2 separate regions of the Homo sapiens genome follow, and region 1 is linked to region 2. Evidence: promoter capture Hi-C in human tissues and cell types (Jung and others, 2019). All regions are on one chromosome and are shown on one strand. Each heading gives the region's core, a stretch centred on a gene start or on the middle of the fragment in contact. The rest is flanking DNA. Distances are from core to core; before and after follow the strand shown.

Region 1 (4,769 bases), core at 1,527-4,026, 170 kb before region 2:
CATTCATGCCAGCAGCAATGGCAGCATTGGTTGGAGGATGGGGCCACACTGGCTTCTCAGTGCATGTTCACACTGGCAATAGCAGTGCAGCAGTGGACATGTGAGGTCCACTCACAACAGCAGCAGTGGTGCAGTGGGATGCAAGCACACCTGTGCTGGCAGGGGAGGGGAGGCAAGGTCCACTACACACACACACCGGCAAAGCAGTTGGGGGTGCGGCCATAGGCAAGTTCATGACAGCAAAGTGGCACAGGGGAGGCTGCGGTTGGCGGAGGGCACGGGTGGGTTGATGTGCATCAGTGGGGGCTGCTCTGCTGGAGCTCTCTGATGGTCAGATGTGATCTGCCAGTGCAGGTGCTATGATGTGGGCTCCCAGGAGTCACCCTAGTTGTGCATCCGAGGCTGCACTGTGAGCAAATATAGCCAGACTGGAGTCCCAGGAGTGGGCAGCAGACAGGAGGGTTCTCAGATTGAACTGACCTTGTCTCATGAGCAAGACCGCCCCACTCTATTCAGGTCTGACAGTTCCCCTAAGACTTAAGTCCCCTAGGGGAGCATAGGTTCAGGACAAGAGCGAGCCACTCCTCACTCCCCCTTCAGCCTAGTGTCTGTGTCTGTCTCAATGCCCTCCCCCCAAATATCTGCTTGGAGTGTACTGGTCTTCCTGATGTTTCAGTCCCTCAGTGACACATGTTCCGCCTGGCTGTGTCTAGTCAACCATCTTGCTGAGGATCAAGAATATGTGTTTTAAATCAGAATGTAGTTTGGCAACCAACAGCACTCACGCCATATCAAAATTCATTGCCAACAAATCCCTACCTTCCTGCTGACTATGACAGTCTGCTACCCACCTCAGTGACAAAAACTGGCAGCCAGCATGCTCCTTCCCCTACTTTGGTGTTAGTGGGCTATCCTTCTCCCTCCCTATTTGGAAATCACTAAGGCCTAAGACCCTTTCTGTGAGCTGCCTCTAACATGCCAAAGGGAAGAGAGTAGGAACTTTGGCACCCTAATTTTAAAAGAATGCTAGCCCATGATGTAAAAGGAAGACTATATTCTTCTCCAAATGTGGACACTGCCTGTTTCCTTTACTGCCGTTATTAGCTGATGTCTTTGGCAGAGAACACATTGAGTAAGTTTTTCCAGGATGGGTTTGTAACATTGGAAATATAACATCTAAATATAACAAACTTCTGATTGTTTCTCAGTTTGCACCCACACATTTACCAAGACACCTCATTTTTTGAAAAAGTTTTTAACAAGGCAAGAGCCAAATTTACACTCCCTTCTTTTCCTTCCCAATGGCAAGTCATTCCAATATTTATTTTTCTTTTTCTTTTTTGTCTATTCTTTCTCTTCTTCTTAATTAAAAGAAGATGTTTTTTGTCACCCGTAAACACTGCAATTCCTCATTTTCCCTTTTCTGTAGGCTGGCCTCATTTTTCCTGCCCTCTACCTGAACAATAGAATTTTTTTAAAAAAAACATTAAACTGAATTGTTAGTAATTTATAATTGAGATTTTAAGTTTAGCATATAAAAACTGAATATGAATAGGATTTGACTCAACAGGTTATTTCTTTATAAATCTAAATATAGATGTGTTTAATGTTCGTTATAAATGGCTTTTAAAAAGGCAAGTGACAACACTGGAAAAAATAAAGTGCTTTTAAGAAGAAATGTAAACATTTTTCTTAGGAAACTCATTTTGGAAGTTTGCATGCTGTCATTATGCCAATATCACATTATAATAAACAATAAAAATGAACTACTATAAACTCTCTTCTCCTGGAATCAATGGTATGAATTTAATAGGCAATCCAGAGCTCCAGCTTCAACTTTAATCAATTCCAAAGTCAAATTTCTGATTATCATATGCTCTACTTAATGAGTAACTAACTGGAGAGTAAGACCTCAGTTTGATTGCAGCATGTTATGTACAAATCAGACCACTAGTTTTTCTATTTTTACCACAGTTAAAGAGTAACAAATATGTCTTAAAAGACCCTGGAAAAGTACCACAAAGCTGGAAGAACTGAAAAAAAAGTAATGCTTCTAAGCACAAGTTATTTTTAGATTCTAGGTTTCATTTTTCCATACGATCTCAGAATATAATACAAAATACCAAGCTACAAAAACAATAAATAATTTCCACCATCAGTATTACTTAAGCCTTGGTTGTCTTGTGTGAGAACTAGGTCACACAGATTCAAGCATAACCAAGACTTTTTTAATCTGTTCCCTAAGAATGCCTCAAGATTTTAAGTCCCAATTCTGCCACTAAAGAGCTATGTGACATTAGGAACACAATTAGCTTTTCTGGGTCTCAGTTTTCTTATTTGTAAAGCAGAGATAATTCTTCTTACAGGGCTGTTGTGAGGATCAAATGATAGAATATATATGAAATATCTAATTCAGTGCCTAGATTCCAGTGAATTTCCTTCAAACCCCTTTCCCACACTCCCCATCGCTAAATTTCCATGCTTAATATTACGTGCCAACAGGGATGTGAGTATTCCTTCCATTCCTCAACAGCAATGAGTTGAACATTGATTTGTGTTGATAGATGTTCTTGAAAAATACACTGTTTTGTATGCATATAATTTTAATTGATATAAATAGTATTGTGTAATGTATCTCATTTAACTTCTTATTCTACTTCTTATTTGGTTTGGGGCTTGGTGTTCTTTGTTTCTTATTGTGGTTTGGGAAAAAAATAGAAAATCTGTTATAAATTAGTCCCTCACAGCTCTTTTTCAAAGGCAAATTCAAAAGTGAGATTTTATAGGTCAGATATGTCCAAAATCAAATGCCAATGAGTTAAATTCATATCTTTTTGCTTGTAAGTATTCTTGCAAAACACATGGTTTTGCATAAAGGTAAAGATAGTTGTAATTTACTTAAATAGCATTGTGCTATATATCGTTCTATTTATCTTTTCTCCCCTCTGCACTATGCTTTGAAGTTCATCTATATTGTCAGATGTGTATCTATTTAGCTGCTTCTCATTTTTTCCCTTATTCTCATAGTATACAATCTCCAAATTATACCTAGCCACTTTTCTAGTGATGGGCACTCAGGAGGGCATTCATCCATCTACCACCATAAAGAATGCTGAAATGAACATTCTTATGTGAGTTCCCACACAGGCAGCCAAAGCTATGAGGAAAGGTGTATACACAAAGGGCCTTGTTATGAGATTGCTGACTCAGCCATGAACAGAGATTCTAGATAGAGAATCAAACCAGTTAGAGCAATGAGCTTAGAGATACAATCTTCATTTTTGTTTTGTTTTGCTTTAATAACAGAATCACGAAGATTTTAAATATTACTTTTAAAAAGCTTGGCTGCATCATAGTTAAATAGTGTTTAGAAAAAGTTCCACCTACCTGTTTTAATAAAGCTGTTTTTTGGATTTGTTTGTTGGTTTTTTTTTTTTAAGATAAAACTACTACATCAAAAGCCATCTCTAGTGCAAAAAATTAACAAACCAAAATTTTTTAGTTTAGAATAAAAGTTTCAAGAGTTAACTTTTGGAAAGCCAAAGTTATCCCCTAAAAAATACTAACATGATTTTTATTTTTGCTGTATAAAGTTTGCTGATAGTGAAAAGAAAATCCATTCTTTAGTTAAAGATCTTTTAACTCATTCCTAAAATTCTAGAACAATTCATGATCTTATAAAGATAACGGAACATAAGAAAAATTATGTGCTATTAAAAATAACTATCCTGGAGAGGAAAAAGGCTTTCGGTTCAAAAATGGTGATGTAGAAGCAAGGTGGCTTCACTTCCCACGGCAGAAAACAAAAAACAAATGTACAGCACCGAGATTATCATCAGCAATATCCCAGAACTCAGATGGAAAGACGAGACAGTTCCCAAGGCCACAGAGAAGTGAAACAACTCTGAGCAGATGGTGAGGAAATCAGACTTCCACAGCCACAAAGCCCATCCCTCCATTTTGTCTGACATCCAGCGCATAGAAAATTTTTCCTGTTTCAGAATAGGGATAGCATTAGGAGGAACATCTAATGTAAATGACGAGTTAATGGGTGCAGCACACCAACATGGCACATGTATACATATGTAACAAGCCTGCATGTTGTGCACATGTACCCTAGAACTTAAAGTATAATAATAAAAAATAATAATTAATAAATAAGTAAATAAAAATTTTCTCCAGGGTGCACGGGCTCACGTCTGTAATCCCAACATGTTGGGAGGCCTAGGCAGGCGGATCGCTTGAGGCCAGGAGTTCCAGACCAGTCTGGCCAACATGGTGAAACCTCATCTCTACTAAAAATATAAAAATTAAGCTGTGTGTGGTGGTGCACGCCTGTAATCCCAGCTACGCAGGAGGCTGAAGGAGGAGAATTGCTAGAACCCGGGAGGCGGAGGCTGCAGGGAGCCGAGATCGCGCCACTGCACTGAAGCCTGCGCAACAGGGCCAGACACTGTCAAAAAAAAAAAAAAAAAAAAGGAAAAGAAAAGAAAGAAAGGAAAATTTCCTGCCAACTCATGGTTTCTACACTGCAAAAAGTGAGCTCAAGTGGACAACCAGCTTCCCCATCAACTCGGTTTCCCTGGCAGGAGGCCCGTCCCTGCCTTAACGCACAGGAAGCATTGCAATTGCCTGAAGGAAGAAATATCCCTGAGGACAGACAGTAAAAGGTGGAGATGGGAATGCTATGCCCGGCCCTGAAAACTATGCTCTGTAATTTAGCTGAAGGAGGCGCCAAATTAGAGTGGCCATTCAACAGCACCATGCCG
Region 2 (4,733 bases), core at 964-3,463:
TGTCGAGGCCGCAGTGAGCCATAATTGCACCACTGCTCCAGTCTGGATGACACAAGACCCTGTCTCAAAAATAAAAATAAAGTAGCACTTCTAAGCCAAGTGCAGCTGTGCATGCTTGTAGTCCCAGCTACTCCTACTCCTAGCTATTCTGGAGGCTAAGATGTGAGGATCCCTTGAGGCCAGGAGTTGGAGACTGCAGTGCCTATTATTACACCTGTGACTAGCCACCGCACTCCAGCCTGGGCAAGCCAGACCCTGTCAGGGAAAAAAAAAAAAAAAGGTAGCTCTTCTAAAAGAATGGAAAGGAAATCATTCTGCAAAACTTTCCTTGGAGCCAGTTTTGACCTGTGAGGCTTCTGTCCCTATAGAGGTTATCTATGACACCCACCACGCCGCATCCAAGTTTATACCAATTCAGAAACGGAAAAAAAGTCTGCAGTCTTGTTAGCTGATTAAGTGAGAAGACATTGATTCAACCTGGCTCAGGTTGGCAATTGCTCATGGCTGCATTTAATAGAAATGTTAAACAATAAACATTGCATCCCCCTCCCCACATGGGACTCACATCACTTTAGTCACTCTATCTCCCCCTTATTCTCAGCCTCCCTCTGCATCGATTTCTCTCCCCAGTCTCCAGTTTTTGCACATTTAAAGTACGCCTATTTCTGTTTCCATTATTTTTCCTGCTCTTAATCAGGACTGAGACTTTTCAAAATTTTTAACTTCTCTGCTATCCCAGAGATTCTCCATACCCCTTACACTCTCATCCCAAGCATCTCACCCTTACCCTTGCCCCCACCCCCATTCGAGAACCTGGACTTCTCCCCAATCTCTATCACAGTACCCCCCGGTCTAAGACGCCCTTAGCTTTCCCTTCCCCACGCCTCCCCCATCAACCCTCCCTAAGCCGGCAGGCAGTCTCAGCCGTTCCAGAAATTGACAAAGAAGTTGCAGAGGGAGTGCCACTTCTCAGCGCAGTAGGTCTCCGTGAGCTCCGCGTTCCCGTCCAGCCCGTCGGGGTCGGGCCCGGTCCCCATGGGTCGCTCCTCGTTGGGGACCAAGGCCGCCTTCCTCTTGCCCTCGTTGGTCTTCCTCTCTGAGGGGTTTTCTTTGGGCGGTGCGCTTTGGGGAGGCGGGGTCCCAGCGGCTGGGCCGGACGCACGCTCCCGGGTCCGCCCCCGGTTCCGGGCCCGGGGCTTGGACTCCCCCGCGAATCCCGCGACGGTGGGGCGTGCGGGCGGGGACGCGCGGGGCACTAGCCGCAGCTCGGCGCCGTGGCCCTTCTTGCCCGCGCACAAGCGGGCCTGGAGCGGCGCGGGGTCGTGACAGGGCCTCCGCTTCTTGCGCAGCCCTCCCAGCACCTGCTTCCAGAAGTGCGCGCGGCGAGCGGCGTAGGCTGCGCAGCGCTCCGGATGCCCGCGGTAGGCGCACTGGTGGCGCGCCCCGTCCGGGCTCTGGCAGCGCAGCGCCAGCTCGCTGCCCGCTGCGGCCTCCGGGGCGGGCAGCAGGAGCTGCCAGCTGCACGCGTGCTGCTCGGGGCTGAGGAAGCGACCCGAGGAGCCGCCAGTGGGCCCGGGGACCGGCTCCGCCACGTTGCTAGCCGCCCCTTTCTCCCTCCGAGCAGCCGCGAGGAGGCAACCACTCAGCAGCAGCAGCAGCGACGGCGACAGCGACGCTCGCAGCTTCGGAGGAGTCATGCTCCGCGGTTTCCGCGCTCCGCTGTTCTCAGACCACGTTTGTCGGGGCTGGACCAGGCAAAGAGCATTCCCCAGGACCTGCGGACAGAGGCAGAGACTGCCACCAACTGAGCCACACGCAGCGCTTCGCCCAGACACATGCACCTGCGAACTACTCTTCCGCAGACTTTCTAGAATCTGCAGCCTGCGAGGAGACCCTCTGAGGAGCTTTCCTGGGGAAACTGCTTACTGTCTAAATAATCACTTTCGAACCATGTATGCATTGAGATTTTCTTCCCCTTGCAAATACGATAGCAAAACGATGCGTGATAATTGCCCCCTCTACCCCTTCCTTCATTTTCTCCCTTCTCCAACCTGCAATAAACTATCTACAAAATCATTTCAGATGATTCCTTGGAAACATGCACTTTACTACACTTTGAACTTACCGAGTTCTGGGAGAGGCGCCAAAGCCTTATTAGGGTAGAGGGAACGACTGCACGGGGGAGTAGTCTGTTTTAGCCGGCTCCCTGTGAATGAACGTGGTATCAATGGAACAGAAGAGGCCTACCCTTCTTCGCCCCTCCCCGATTTCTCTCACACTGGGAGACTTATCACCGCCGCGCTTCTCTCTCTCTCTCCCTCTCTCTCTCTGTCTCTCCAGATGGATGATGGAAGCGGTCCTGTAGTATGAAATACAAATCTTGTATTTTGCTTCCAATGTTTAAAATAATCAGGCAAAATTAACCAAGTTTTTCTTCTTTCATGTACTTAACCATCCAAAAAATAAAAATTAAACAAAAGATCTAAGTTTTAAAAGTTAAATAAAATGAAACAAAACAAACTTCAGTATTCTAAACTAGGCATTTTTTACACAATTATATCATTTACATTCTATTTCTCATATTCTGAGTTCTACATTTTTACCTATTATTTCCAATAGCCTTTCTTAAGACTCTCAATCTTAATAATTGTTACTACTAATAAAAATATAATATCCTAGTTTATTAACATACAATAGTGCCCAGCAGTTCACCCAGGAGTGGACATTTGGGCTTTTTATTATTTTTAGGTATTAGAAATCAGTTATAAGGGTCCTCCAAAAATTAGAAGTTTAAAAAAATTATTTGTATTATAGTAGTTGAACGGTAAGATTACCAATTGAAATGGTATAATAGTTAAGAATGTGAGACCAGCCTGGCCTGGTGAAATCCCGTCTCTACTAAAAATACAAAAATTAGCCAGGCGTGGTGGCAGATGCCTGTAATCCCAGCTACTCAGGAGGCTGAGGCAGGAGAATCACTTGAACCCGGGACAGGGCGAGACTGCCTCTCAAAAAAAAAAAAAAAGAGAGAGAGAATGAATGTGTTCTTGAATCTTGAAAATGTTACATTTAAGCAAAGCTGCTTTTTCTGGAGGGGGGGATTGTGTGTGTGTGCGGGGGTTTGTTTGTTTGTTTGTTTGTTTGTTTGTTTTGAGACGGGAGCTCACTCTGTCACCCAGGCTGGAGCGCAGTGGTGCTATCTCGGCTCACTGCAACCTCTGCCTTCCCGGTTCAAGCGATTCACCTGCCTCAGCCTCCCCAGTAGCTGGAATTACAGGTGCCTGCCACAACACCCAGCTAATTTTTAGTGGAGAAGGGGTTTCACCATGTTGCCCAGTCTGGTATCGAACTCCTGACCTGAGATGAGCCACCTGCCTCAGCCTCTCAAAGTGCTGACCAAGCAAAGCTGTTTTTTCTTTCTTTTTTTTTTTTTTTGCTCTTTTTAAAATTTTTATTTAGAAGCCTACTTGTAGAAGTTAGCATAATTTTACAGATTATTAGAAAAATTCAATTATTTTCTCTCTGCAAACAGTTATAATAGGTTAGGAATAATAGATTAGAAATGTACTACATTGCAAAAACAGTGGCCTATAACTATCTGTACATTTACTGTGCACCTTAAGGAAAAGAATTTGACAGTGTGCTATACTTACACTGCAGGTAACATATTTTTATTCTATCACACAAAACTGACCAGTGGTAGTGCTTGAATTTATAAATGGCCATTAAACAGAATATTTAAACTGAGATGTATATTTAGCATGCTAAAAAGTGAAAAAAATTTCAACTGAAGTTCTGTGGCTCATCAGTTCAAATGTTTCATGGCATTTTTTTCTTTAAACGAAAAATTTTGATATTGTAAAACAAATAATTTTACATAATAAATGCAAAAGTATAAAATTTTCTAAATTTTTAGAAAGAATATTTCCATTCATTTTGTCATGGGTTTTGTGTGGCTCCTCTTAATATATTAATGATATTAATAAGACACTGGTCCTATACCACTTTCAGAGTCCATCTTCAATTAAAAACTGTAACAAAAATAAACAGTATGTAGAGTAACACAAAGTAAATTAAATATACTAAACTCACACAACAGGTAGAATAAAATGAAACCAAATTACATAATGGCAGGTTATACATTTTAAAGACTCTCTTTCCACTTAGTCAAATAAGAAAGACATTGAAATGTTAACTTACTGATTTCTGTGGGGTTTTCCCCACTGGTTCAAATGCGAAAGTTTGATATAAATCTAATATTTTATTTCTGTACATTTAACATGATTCAGTATAATCTGCAGTCTCATGTATAGCTTGTCAATAATGCCATCATCACTGTATGTCAAACAAAAAACCTCACTGCTTACTAGAAATGCTAAACACTGGAAAAAATGGAATTTTATACATTTGTTTTCTTAAATTTTGACAGATGTTCTTCAAAAAATTAAAACTGCCTTCCACAAAATTTTGTGTGTATATGGCACAAGTTGACAGCCAAAAAGTGTGAATTCCATCAAAAAGGCACTGTTAACAATACTCAGAATAATCTGACAAGGTCTACATCAATGTCTGAGTAAAGAATAGGTAAATAGACAAACCCTTATAAAAGACAGCATTATTGTTTAAATATACTATAGCTATATAAAAAGAAATAAAGTGACACACAGAAATGACCCTTAGCAAAGCTGTTTTAAAACTTCAGAATATTCCATCATCTTTTAAAAATGTTCTCA

What was found. The method cuts DNA at HindIII sites, captures the fragments that hold promoters and counts their contacts. A contact is called where the count stands out against the background at its distance.
Region 1: a contact is called between a fragment that was not itself captured here and the fragment with the promoter of FGFBP3 in region 2, in 1 of the 25 tissues and cell types used here (liver).

What each region holds. Positions count from the first base shown.
Region 1 is chr10:91,740,474-91,745,242 of GRCh38, forward strand. No RefSeq gene overlaps it. Among named protein-coding and RNA genes, the nearest start is that of TNKS2-DT, 55 kb to the right of the region's middle. The HindIII fragment of the contact is 3,672 bases long and covers 941-4,612 here.
Region 2 is chr10:91,907,273-91,912,005 of GRCh38, forward strand. It overlaps FGFBP3 (fibroblast growth factor binding protein 3), which reads right to left and starts at 2,214. Exons shown (of 2, transcript NM_152429.5): 1 at 2,126-2,214; 2 at 1-1,775. The coding sequence starts at 1,697. The coding sequence ends at 921. It overlaps FGFBP3-AS1 (FGFBP3 antisense RNA 1), which reads left to right and starts at 857. Exons shown (of 2, transcript NR_199602.1): 1 at 857-977; 2 at 1,625-2,076. RefSeq lists a silencer at 1,087-1,656 and an enhancer at 1,560-1,854. The HindIII fragment of the contact is 15,807 bases long and covers 1-4,733 here.